2 separate regions of the Homo sapiens genome follow, and region 1 is linked to region 2. The links are contacts of gene promoters, found by promoter capture Hi-C in blood cells and fetal thymus (Javierre and others, 2016). All regions are on one chromosome and are shown on one strand. Each heading gives the region's core, a stretch centred on a gene start or on the middle of the fragment in contact. The rest is flanking DNA. Distances are from core to core; before and after follow the strand shown. Region 1 holds the start of LOC124904303 (a long non-coding RNA gene). Region 2 holds the start of MRO (maestro).

Region 1 (5,851 bases), core at 39-2,538, 200 kb after region 2:
TGGTTAGGCCTGCAGTCAGGACCCGCATTCTAACTAACCAGTGTAGCCTCTGGCAAGTGCAGAGCCACTTTGCAGCTCCCTGGCAATGGAGATGATCTGTGTACTGGGGAAGGCAGCTGGGCCCAGAGGGGCTTTTGAACCACAGCATTTTTCTTAAAGATGGGGGATGTTATTGTTGAACCAGGTAGGAGGTGACCTGGGAACCAGCCTCCCTGAAAAGGAGGAGGGAGGGAAACACCTATGCCCAGGGTTATGTGGTGCTATTTCCTTCCTGATTAAAGATGTAGATGCCTTGGTACCCGAGCCCTGGAGGAGGCTCCCTCAACCTGAGAAAGCACTGTGCTGCAGCTCATCCTGGGAGCCGGCTCCCCTGGGTGGTACAGCACAGAGGGAAGGAAGGGGGCCGCAGTTCAAGGGCAGCAGCTGGGAGAAGCATGTCAGAAGTGCCAGGGAAGCAAAAGTCGGCTAGGGAAAGGAAAGGGGAGGAAGGAAAAGCAGAGAGGCAGCAGCAGCTCTGGGAGAAAGGGACAGCAGACATTAGAGGGGCGAGTGTTCTGGGAGCCTCAGAGCAGTGATGGATTTTCCATCTTTCCTTGGAGGAGGGGCTGGGTCTTGGAATCCCCTCCCTTCTCTGCCCCTTACACACAGTTTGTCCTGAGGAGCAGACATGAGGTCTGTGCTCACCCAAGCGCTCACAGTCTCCTTCTCTCTTCAATACCCATCTGCTGGGCCTAATTCTTACCTCAAAAAGGTAACTCTTGATTATTCTTAAAAGTTTAAAAAAAAATAGTAACTGTGATTCTGGTCTAAGCTAAAATTATTTTTCCTCAAGGTTGTCTCCCAAGAAAAATGCTTAAAGAGGCCGGGCACGGTGGCTCATGCCTGTAATCCCAGCACTTTGGGAGGCCGAGGTGGGCGGATCACCTGAGGTCAGGAGTTCAAGACCAGCCTGGCCAACACGGTGAAACCCCATCTCTACTAAAAAATACAAAAATTAGCCAGGTGTGGTGGTGAGCACCTGTAATCCCAAGTACTCAAGAGGCTGAGGGAGGAGAATTGCTTGAACTTGGGAGGTGGAGGTTGCAATGAGCCGAGATCATGTCATTGCACTCCAGCCTGAGTGACAGAGTGAGACTCCCTCTCAAAAAAAAATAAATAAATAAATAAGAAAAATGCTTAAAGAATATGGAAATAATTTGGTGGTGTTTAGGTAGATTGTTTTCCTCCTCAGAGTTGAAAGTAACACAGATATTCATTAACTTTTATCACTGAAATGACACCATAGCACTGTAGCCCAGGCTGGAGTGCAATGGTGCAATCTCAGCTCAGTGCAACCTCCACCTCCCTGGCTCGAGCGCTTCTCCTGCCTCCACCTTCTGAGTAGCTGGGATTACAGGCACATACCACCATGCCTGGCTAATTTTTGTATTTTAGCAGAGACGAGGTTTTGCCATGTTGGCCAGGCCAGTCTCAAACTCTTGACCTCAAATGGTTTGCCTCGGCCTCCCAAAGTACTGGGATTACAGGCGTGAGCCACCGTGCCTGGCAGGTTTGTTTTGGATGAACTTGTCATTTCCAGCACTCCCTGCTTGTGATGTTCTCTCTTGTACCTGTGACACTGAGGAAAACCGTTAGATGCCAAGTTCACCTGAGGGACTAAAATCTGTCTAGATGTAAGTCTGATCTGGCGTCTACTGGGGGAAGGGAAAGACTGGATAAACTGTGTTTCAGTTCATATCCATTGCCATTCAATTCTGCATTCTAAGATATGGCAACCAGTAGGCTCACTCTACATGTTTATTCAACGGAAACGATGTCCGAAAATTTAACTTTCATCACAAAGCATTTTAGGTGGGTAGAATCATGACTGTGAACTGTCTCCTAAATAATTTAGTGTTCCATTATTCCCCTCCCCAGTACATTTTAGATTTAGGTCCTACACAGTTCTAGACCCTGGATTCTAGGGCTTTGCCTCTGGAACCAGCGGTATTGGCCTCACTTGAGAGCTTATTAGAAATGAAGAGTCTCCAGCCCACCCTCAAATCCAAGGAATCAGGATTTACTTTTTAACATGCTCCCCAAGTGATCTGTGTGCATGTTAAAGTAGGAGAAATGCTGCTCTGAGGCATCTGATCAGCAGGCCCTCCCAGGCCCTGGCTTCAGGGTAGAGCTATTTGGGTTGCAGATAGCACCATGCCACACTCTGTGGGCAGAGAGTTCAAATTCCAGCTCTGCTGTGAACCTCATCACAGGGACAAGTGACCTAAAATTAAAAAAAAAAAAAATCAAACTCACAGAAAAGTCGCAAGAATAGTACAAAGGGCCGGGCATGGTGGCTCATGCCTGTAATCCCAACACTTTGGGAGGCCGAGATGGGTGGATCACGAGGTCAGGAGTTCAAGACCAGCCTGGCCAACATGGTGAAACCCTGTCTCTACTCAAAATAAAAAAAATTAGCTGGGCGTGGCGGCACACACCTGTAATCCCAGCTACTTGGGAGACTGAGGCAGGACAATGGCTTGAACCCGGGAGGCGGAGGTTGTGGTGAGCCGAGATCGTGCCACTGCACTCCAGCCTGGGTGACAGACCGAGACTCCATCTCAAAAAAAAAAAAAAAAAAAAGAATAGTACAAAGAACTTCTGTAAATACTTTACCTAGACTCACCAACTATTAACATTTTGCAGTGTATACTTTATCATTTTTTTCGCTCTACCTATGTATGATGATTATTCCTGAATTCTTGGAGAGTTAATTGCATATACTGGCATGTCTTTACCCTCAATACTTCAGTGTGTAGCTCTGAAAACAAGGACATTTTCCTACATAACGACAACACCAGGGCTAGAACTAGATGGAGGCTAACAAGGCCTGAGCGTGAGTGGCCCTTCAAGAGGGCTTCCTTCAACTTTGTACCCTAGGAGCCTCTGTTGTCTCGCCCTAGTTCTGGCCTGCATGCTACAGTTATCAAAATCAGGAAACCTTACTATTATCTAATCTATAGTCTATTATATCTAATCTATAATCTATTATATACCTATAGTCTAATCTATAAGCTATTTTCCAATCATGTCTATTGTCCCAATAAGGTCCTTCGTAGCAAAAATTTTCCCCAGATTCAATTCAGGATCATGTATGACATTTACTTGTCCTGTGTATTTAGTCTCCTTTGATCTGGAACAGTTTTTCAGGCTTTGTCTTTTATGATATTGACATTTTTGAAAATTATAGACTAGTTATGTTACAGAATGTCCCTCAATATGGGGACAAGTAACTTTTTAATCTCTTAACGGTTCAGTTTCATCACTTGTAAATTGGGAATAGTCCCTCCTTCATGTTGAATCAAATAGATGAAGACACGTAATGGGCTTGACACATGGCAGGCGCAGGTGGATTAAACAAGAAGCTGCCACTGATCAGGCACTTGTCAGCGCCATGCCAAGTGCTTCAAGTGCATTGTCTCATTTCGTTTTTACTGCAGCTCTGTGAGATGGGCTGTATTTTTACCCCTACTTCACAGAAGAAGAATCTGAGACTTAGAATCATTTGTCCAAGGTCTCATAGCTAGTAAGGAGTGACATGGGGACTTGAATCAAGTCAGTGAGACTGCAAAGATTATTCGCTTAGTAACATGCTTGTGGTGCTTGCTAAAATCTAGCTTTTTAAACATAAAATTTTCCTAGAGTTCACCATTTTAACCATTTCAAAGTGTACATTCAGTGTCTCTTAGTATATTTACAATGTTGTACAACTCTCAGCACTATCCGATTCCACAACATTTCCATCACCTCATGAAGAAACCCTGTACCTCCCAATTCCCCTGACAACCACCGATCTGTTAATCTACCTCTGTTTCTGTGGCTTTGCATATACATAAAATGAAATACTACTAAGCAATAAAAAGGAACTAACTACTGATACACAGTAACATTCTGGATCTCAAAAACAACATACTGAGTGAAAGAACCCAAATACAAAAGACTGCACATGGAAATATTCCATTTATGTGAAATTCTAGAAAAAATGCCTTAGGAACAGACAGCATGGCAGTGGTTGCCTGGGGACAGGAACATATGGTTGGGAGGTGGCACTGACTGCAAAGGGGCATAAGGGAACTTTTTGGAGGGATAGAGGTGTTCTAATACTTGATTGGTAGTGGTGGTTACACATTGCATATATTTGCCCAAATGCATCAAATTGTCCACTGCGTCGAGTTTATAATATGTAAATTATACCTCAATAAGATTTTAAAAAAAGAAGAAAAAATCCCAAGCATATCTGGTCCTGAATGGAGTTCAATTCATCAGCACAGCTACCTTCGTTGTCTGGCCCCAGATCCATCTTCCCAGCCTCATCTCTCGCTTCTCTGACACTTGCCATGGGCAAGCCCAGTGTTGGGCACTCAGAGAACGTGGGGGAAGGAGAACCTCTATCTTCAGGGAACTCACAGCCTAGTCTGGGAGCAGAAAGAAAGGGCAGCCAACTCTGACACAGCAGGGCACCATTCCTAGAGGACCACTGAGTCCTAAAGGACAGGAACAAGAATATTCCAGACACAGCCTGGATTCCAGTCATTTTGAATCTCAAGTTTGAATCCAGTTTCAATCTAATATTTTGAATAGGTAATACATTTCTATGGCTGTATACTTTAAGCCAAAGAGATGACAGAGTTTATTTTATTGCTTTTAGGAATGTGGGAATCACTTGTAATATTTAGGTTAATTGATGTCAAGTAATTTTCAGGAGCAACTGGAATTATTTTAAAAATCACTGGATTAAACTGGGTGCAGTGGTGCATGTCTGTAGTCCCCAGCTACTCAGAAGGCTGAGGCAGGAGGATCACTTGAACGCAGGAGTCTGAGTCCAGCCAAGGCAACACAGCAAGACTCCATCTCTAAAAAACAAAACCAAACCAAACCCAAAACATTGGGTTGACACTAAAATATCATGATGCTAACTTGTGCCAGGAGGTCCTTTACTTGAGGGAAGAGCACTCTGTCTCCATCCCAAGGATGAAAAGATTAAACTTCTATATTCTCCTCACCCTTAGAAAGCTCCTATTCATAGGAGGTAAAACCATTAAATAAAACAAAAGGAAAATAAACCTTTCAAGTCTTTGCCTGCGCCTATCAGAGATCTATGTGGAACTGGCAGTAGCTTGGCTCCCTTTGAGTGCTTTGGAACTATGGTCTTCAAGATTTCTTGCTTGCTTTTCTCCTAAAAGAAATTTGAAAAACTGTGTTTTTTTCTTCCTTCCTTTCTTTCCTTTTTCTTTCTTTCTCTCTCCTTCCTTCCGTCCTTTTTTTTAAAATAAGAGATAGGGTCTCATTCTGTCACTTAGGCTAGAGTGCAGTGGCATGATCACGGCCCACTGCAGCCTCAAACTCCTGGGCTCAAGCAATCCTCTCACCTCAGCCTCCTGAGTGGCTGGGATTACAGGCATGAGCCATCACGCCTGGCTAAAACTGTTTCTTCTTGAACTTTTAAAGGTCATATCTAAAATGTTTCATCACAAGTTTAAATAATAGTAAGGTTTGTTATTTCTGGCGTAAGTATTGGCATTTTAAAATAAGATTGTTACATCATTCTTTAAACGTATCCAAGGAAATTTAAAGATCATAATGCATCTATCAACCATTTAAAAAATATATGAACAAGCTTTTCTTTAAAGTAAATTTTACATCACTTTTTTTTTCTTATCTTGTATTTCCATTCCACTTACCCCTCAATATTTTAATATAATATTTTAAGCTGGAGAGTCTTTTATTGATCAACCTATCATATTTCCCTACAAAAAAATTTTTTTAAAAAAATTCTTGACTGAGTCTGATAAGCTTAAAAAGCTCATTTTGA
Region 2 (5,787 bases), core at 3,223-5,722:
ATGATGGTTACATTGAAATTTTGGTGGTGGTAACTATGGTGGTGGTGGAAACTATAATGATCTTGGAAACAGCGATCAAATTATGAATGCATGAAAGGGGGCAGTTTTGGTGGAAGAAGTTCAGGCAGTCCCTGTGGTGACCGTTATGGATCTGGTAGTGGAAATGGTGGATATGGTAACAGAAGGTTCTAAAAACAGCAGAAAAGAAGGCTGGGCACGGTGGCTCACACCTGTAATCCCAGCACTTTGGGAAGCCGAGGTGAGCAGATCACCTGAGGTCAGGAGTTCGAGACCAGTCTGGTCAACATGGTGAAACCCCGTCTCTACTAAAAATACAAAAATTAGCTGGGCATGGTGGCGGGTGCCTGTAATCCCAGCTACTTGGGAGGCTGAGGCACGAGAATCGCTTGAACCCGGGAGGCAGAGGTTGCAATGAGCCAAGATCATGCCCCTGCACTCCAGCATGGGGGGTAGAGTGAGACTCTGTCTCCAAAAAAAATAAAAAAATAAAAACAGCAGAAAAGGGATACAGTTCTTAGCAGGAGAAAGAACAAGAAGTTTTGGGAAAGCAGCAAGTTACCTTGAAACAGTTGTCCCAAATGCATTAGGAACTAAAAATCTGCCACGGAAGAAACGATGATACATAGTTAGAAAAGTTACTGCAGCTTAAACAGAAAACCTTTCTTGTTCAGGACTGTCATAGCCACAGTTTGCAAAAAGTGCAGCTATTGATAATGCAATGTAGCATTGGCTAGATGAACATCCCTATGGTCTTTTATCTGCTATAGCTTTTTCTTTTTCTTTTTCTTTTCATTACATCAGGTATATTGCCCTGTAAATTGTGGTAGTGGTTCCAAGAATAAAAAATTAAGGAATTTTTAACTTTTCAATATTTATATAGTTCAGTTTTTCCACATTTCTGAACAGACACTTTAACAGAATAGTTTTGAGGGTGTTTCCTTGTGGGTTAACAAATAAAGAAGATCATTGTGAATTACTGCTTTGCATAAATTTTGCTAACGTTAGCTGTAAAGAAACACCAGCTGACTTGCAGTTTAAGGGAATTCTATTCTCCCCATTTCCAAACCATGATCTAAATGGGTGCTGACATGTGGAGAGAATATTTGTACGCTTGCAACGTCTATTTTAAATAAATAGGATTGGGTATTTAAATTAGCATATTTATGAATTTAATAGCATTAAGATTACCTTCAAATGAAAAAATCTCAAATTTCAAAATCAAAATAAAAGAAGCAAAACTCCCTCAAGCTGAGGGCCCACTCACCAAGGAGGGTGTGGGCCTCATTATAAAACAGCTGGTATCTCTGTTCCAAGGCATAAGAAAATCATGCCTGAAGCTCCTTTCCATTGGTAAAGAAAACAAACCTGCTACCCTGTTCTTTCTGCTTGACTTCTCTTGCAAGATTAGCATAACAGCTAAGGGCTTTAGCCAGCCAAGGCAACTTCCCCAGGCTTCAGAAACCAAGCAGCCAGCATCGCCTTCATAGGCGTAAGTAGAACTCAAGGTCATGCTCCCATGCACGGCAAAGTAAATGAGAACTGAGTGGCTCCACCTGGAAGATTCGATCTGTGATTAGAGAAACTCACAGAGTTACATCTTGAGCTCACTACCTCTTCTAGCAAACCCTACCTCCCCATCACAAGAGAAAAACTGTGATGTGGTTTAATCTTACAGGTTGTCAGGGATCATCTCAATCTTGGGTGCAGGAAAAGTAGAGCATTTCTCAGTGTTGGTTGCACCTTCTATATCAGAATTCCCCGGGGTACGTGTTACAAACTCCAAGCCAGAGGTGGGTGCAGTGGCTCACACCTGTAATCCCAGCACTTTGGGAGGCTGAGCATCCCTTGAGCCCAGGAGTCTGAGGCTGCCGTAAGCCATGATTGCGCCACTGCACTCCAGCTGGGTTGACAGAGCAAGATCCTGTCTCTAAAAAATAAAAATAAATAATAATAATAACAATAAACTCCAGGCCTGCCCCAGAATTATTGGATCTGAATCTCAGGGAGTGTCGGGCCTGAGCATTGCACTTTTTGTATGTGGTGCCTGGTGATGCTACACGCCTGTTGGTATAGAAGAACCTCTATCCTGGAAATTAAATAAAGCTAATCCGAGCCCATGCAGTAGCAGAAACCATGGAAGTCAGGGAGGGAGCTGGGGCCGAGGGATGAGAAAGAGAAAGAGGTCAGTGTCTTTGCAGAGAACAAGAGATTGATACCATATGTTTGTGAAGCACTTTGAATTTCACTTTAAAAATAAAATTAAAATCACAGCAGCTGTTTGTCTATGATTTATGCAACTTTTCTAGGATGCTATTCTTCAGTTAAAAGTTTCATTAAAAAATAAAACAAATTAGGAGTTAAATCAAGGTCACAAGGCCCCTCGCTGGAGCCTTGTGTTTCTTGTACTTGCAGCTTCTTAAAGAACTCCCACCCCCCGCCCCATGCCCTCCTTCCTGCCTGCAGTGCCTCCCTCCTTTCTAAAACATGAAGTCCTTTACACCCAATCCAACAAAAACAAAAGGATCATTCTCATCTGTTGCAACACAGGATCTCAGAGAGGATCGTTTTAAACACACTGTGAATGAACGTAGTATACAGATTCCAAGATTTCTTAGGATGTTCTAACTCCTTCTCCAAGCCCTCTCACCCGTAAGACAGGCATTCTTTCCTAGGAGAATTACATTTTCTGGTGGGTTTCTATGGTCACCACATATGCCTAGCCTTGTATGACCAAGACCAGGAGGTCACCTGGCCATTTGGAAGCCAAAGACACAGCTCTGCTTATAGTTTTACTCATCTCTGCACACGTTCTTCAACGAATTCTTCTTCCTCTGGAACATACCCCTGAGTGAGCTATGTGCAGACCCCTTGGTTTTCACGAACCCCAAGACCCCGGCTGGGGCTTGTGTTCATTGCCAGGTTGTGCTCTACCTGATCTTACTGAAGATACATGGATTTGGGGTAACTTAGAAGACTGTTTTATGCTTTACACTGACTCCCATCTGCTTTTGCAAACTTGAATGATTCTGACTCAAAATATTAGATTTTTGGTCAATAATCCTTTTATTTATTGAAGCCAAAAGGTATATTATGAAGGCCAAAATTATAAAACACTTTGATTTTATCTCATCTGTAAAATGAGCAGAAGAAACTGTTAGATTGCTTAAAAATCCTTCCAACACTGAACTTATAAATGACAATAGTAGGCTGCGTGTGGTGGCTCATGCCTATAAATCCCAGCATTTTGGGAGGCTGAGGCAGGCAGATTGCTTGAGGTCAGGAGATCAAGACCAGCCTGAGCAACATGGTGAAACCCCGCCTCTACTAAAAATACAAAAATTAGCCAGACATGGTGGTGCACACCTGTAGTCCCAGCTACTCAGGAGGCTGAGGCAGAAGAATCACTTGAACCCAGGAGACAGAGGTTGCAGTGAGCCGAGATCGGGCCACCGCACCCCAGCTTGGGCAACACAACAAGACCCTGTCTCAAAAAAATGAAAAAAAAAATTAATATTAAAAAAATCGTCTTCATTTTAGAAAAGAAGAAACTGGGCTTAAAGTAATGTTGAACAATTAACTCAAAGTCAAATACTGGCAGAGCAGATTTTAGGACTCTGAAAGATATCCTTTCAGTCACTGTGCTATAAGCCTAGGTTCAGCTCCCAGGCAATGTCCTGTGAGCTGAACGAGGGAAGACAGACCGCATAGACATTTCAGTTTAAAGTGTCAATATCTTCCCTGAGTCCCTGCCATTCTATTATATTGCTGACAATAGAATGATCTATAACCCAACTATTGATCGATTAACATAGTTTGTGAAAAGCAAACAAAATCAGCTTCCTGGTCAACATTGCCCACTTCAGTTTTACAAAGAGAACATTACCAAATCCTACCCCCTAGAGGTCGAGCTCCCATACTGGTGACCAGAGTGACATTCCAGAAAGGTTTTGGGAACCCAAGTGCAGCCAGGACGCCTCCCGCTGCATCTGGCTGCCCCGGCCAACAGTGTCCCTTACCTGCGGCTCCTGCAGGCGGCTGCCACGTGATGAACCGGAGCCCGTTCCTGACTCGGGAGGGCTGCTTTCCCGGGTAGTAGCCAAATGTGATGACTCGGCTAAATTTTCCCAGCCCTGAATTCCTAACATACAAGAAGGGAAATTAGGAGGTGACGCAGGGTCTGTCCAGGATAACGGGTCGGCACAGAGTGTTGGAAAGTGAGAATCAAATAAGAGGGGAAAGTCAAAGTTTATAGAGTATTTGGGCAGGGGAGGGAATTGTTCTGGAATGAAACCGACAAGAATATTGTAGGGTGGCACAAGCATGACTTGCTACCTTTGCTTCCCCACGCCATGCTGAGGTGTTTTTCCTTCTCCTTGCTGTGATTTCCCCTCCTTCTTCCCTCATGCCAGCCTGGTCGACACTTTCTGCAGAAATTCTGCAGATGGCAATTCTGGGGACCTTTCCTCTGCACCAAACAAAACCTCCCTGCCAAGGCCCGTTCCCCATGCGGCCGCGAGATGGCGGCATGACTCAATGGACGGGTTCCAGGCGACCCCTGCACAAAGCCGCCGCCGTGGCTGCCTCCTTCCTTACATAATCCTGTTAGAGCGCATTTAATCTAAGGATGGGACACTGTGTTCCATGCCAAGCAGCCTCATCGTGGCTGATTGTTGCACCAACAACAAGAGCTTTAACCGTTGACGTCCCTTCCTGCTCAAGAAACACCGTATGTCCCGAAAGGAGCGATTTAAGCTCTCAAAATGATTTATTGGTAAAAAGCAAAGCAAAATTAAAACCGGGGAATTACAGCACCTGCAGAATTTAGGAGCCTCTCTCTCTCATCAGCCCTCCTTCCCTGACTCTCCAAACACGTGCATAAATCTATTTAACAATAATTAGTTATCGTCTCGCTCTGCATTGGGTCATAAAGGGAGAAAATATGTCCTGAAAGGAAAAAAGAACAGTTATATTTTCAAAGACAGAGGCACTTATTGTTATGCTAATAGATAACATTCAATTAAAACTTCTGTGTGCCAAATGTTGTGATAAATATTACATAGACTATCTCATTCAATTGTTACATCAAACCAAAGGTTAATACTCCTACTATAGTCTCCATTTTAAGGCTGGAGAAACTGAGGCACAGGGAGATTACCTTGACAAAGGTCATGCAGTTAATTTGTGGCAGTTAAAATTCAGCTACAGGCAGGCTAATGTAAGAGCTTGGACTCAGCCATGATGCTATGCACTGGACTGGTCTAGAAAACCCAGGAGATAAACAGAAAAATATAAACCAGAGAACTATGTCAGAGTGGAAGATGAAAGAAAAAGGCAGAAAGAAAATCGATGCTGCTGAGAAAATAAGAAGAATGAGGCTAAAACACCACCCTCTTCAGATTAAGTTACAAGGGAACCACTGTGACATTTGAGGACACAATTTCAATAGAGTGACAGAGAAAGGAAGCTAGACTGCAAAACTAAGGGGCTATGAGGAAAGAGGAAATTGAGATGTCTTGCTGCAAAAGGAAAGCAATAAATAGACTAGAAGAGACAGCAAGGTCAGGCAAAAGCATTTTGGTTTTCTTGTGTGCTTTTTGAAATGGAATAAAGCCTGGCCTTGTTTGAAAGTGGTTGCAAGGGAGCCCTAATATGTGGCTGGTGCCAAGTAGTGGTAATAGGAAGAGGTGGAGGGGGCATCAAGGGCACGAGGGAAAGGGTTAGCTCTGGAGGAGGAAGAAAGATGGCTGCCTCTGCCTGCAACTGGGA

The links. Contacts are between HindIII fragments. The CHiCAGO score rates a contact against its expected background, and 5 or more counts as called.
Region 1: a fragment that was not itself captured here is called in contact with the fragment with the promoter of MRO in region 2 in 1 of 17 cell types (neutrophils); the score reaches 5.5 in neutrophils.

The regions. Positions count from the first base shown.
Region 1 is chr18:51,017,363-51,023,213 of GRCh38, forward strand. All of the region lies in intron 1 of LOC107985152 (a long non-coding RNA gene), which reads right to left. LOC124904303 (a long non-coding RNA gene) reads right to left here and starts at 924. Exons shown (of 2, transcript XR_007066372.1): 1 at 1-924. The HindIII fragment of the contact is 8,731 bases long and covers 1-5,654 here.
Region 2 is chr18:50,815,544-50,821,330 of GRCh38, forward strand. MRO (maestro) reads right to left here and starts at 4,473. Exons shown (of 8, transcript NM_031939.6): 1 at 4,354-4,473; 2 at 4,038-4,159. RefSeq lists enhancers at 4,158-4,791, 4,628-4,677. The HindIII fragment of the contact is 17,012 bases long and covers 1-5,787 here.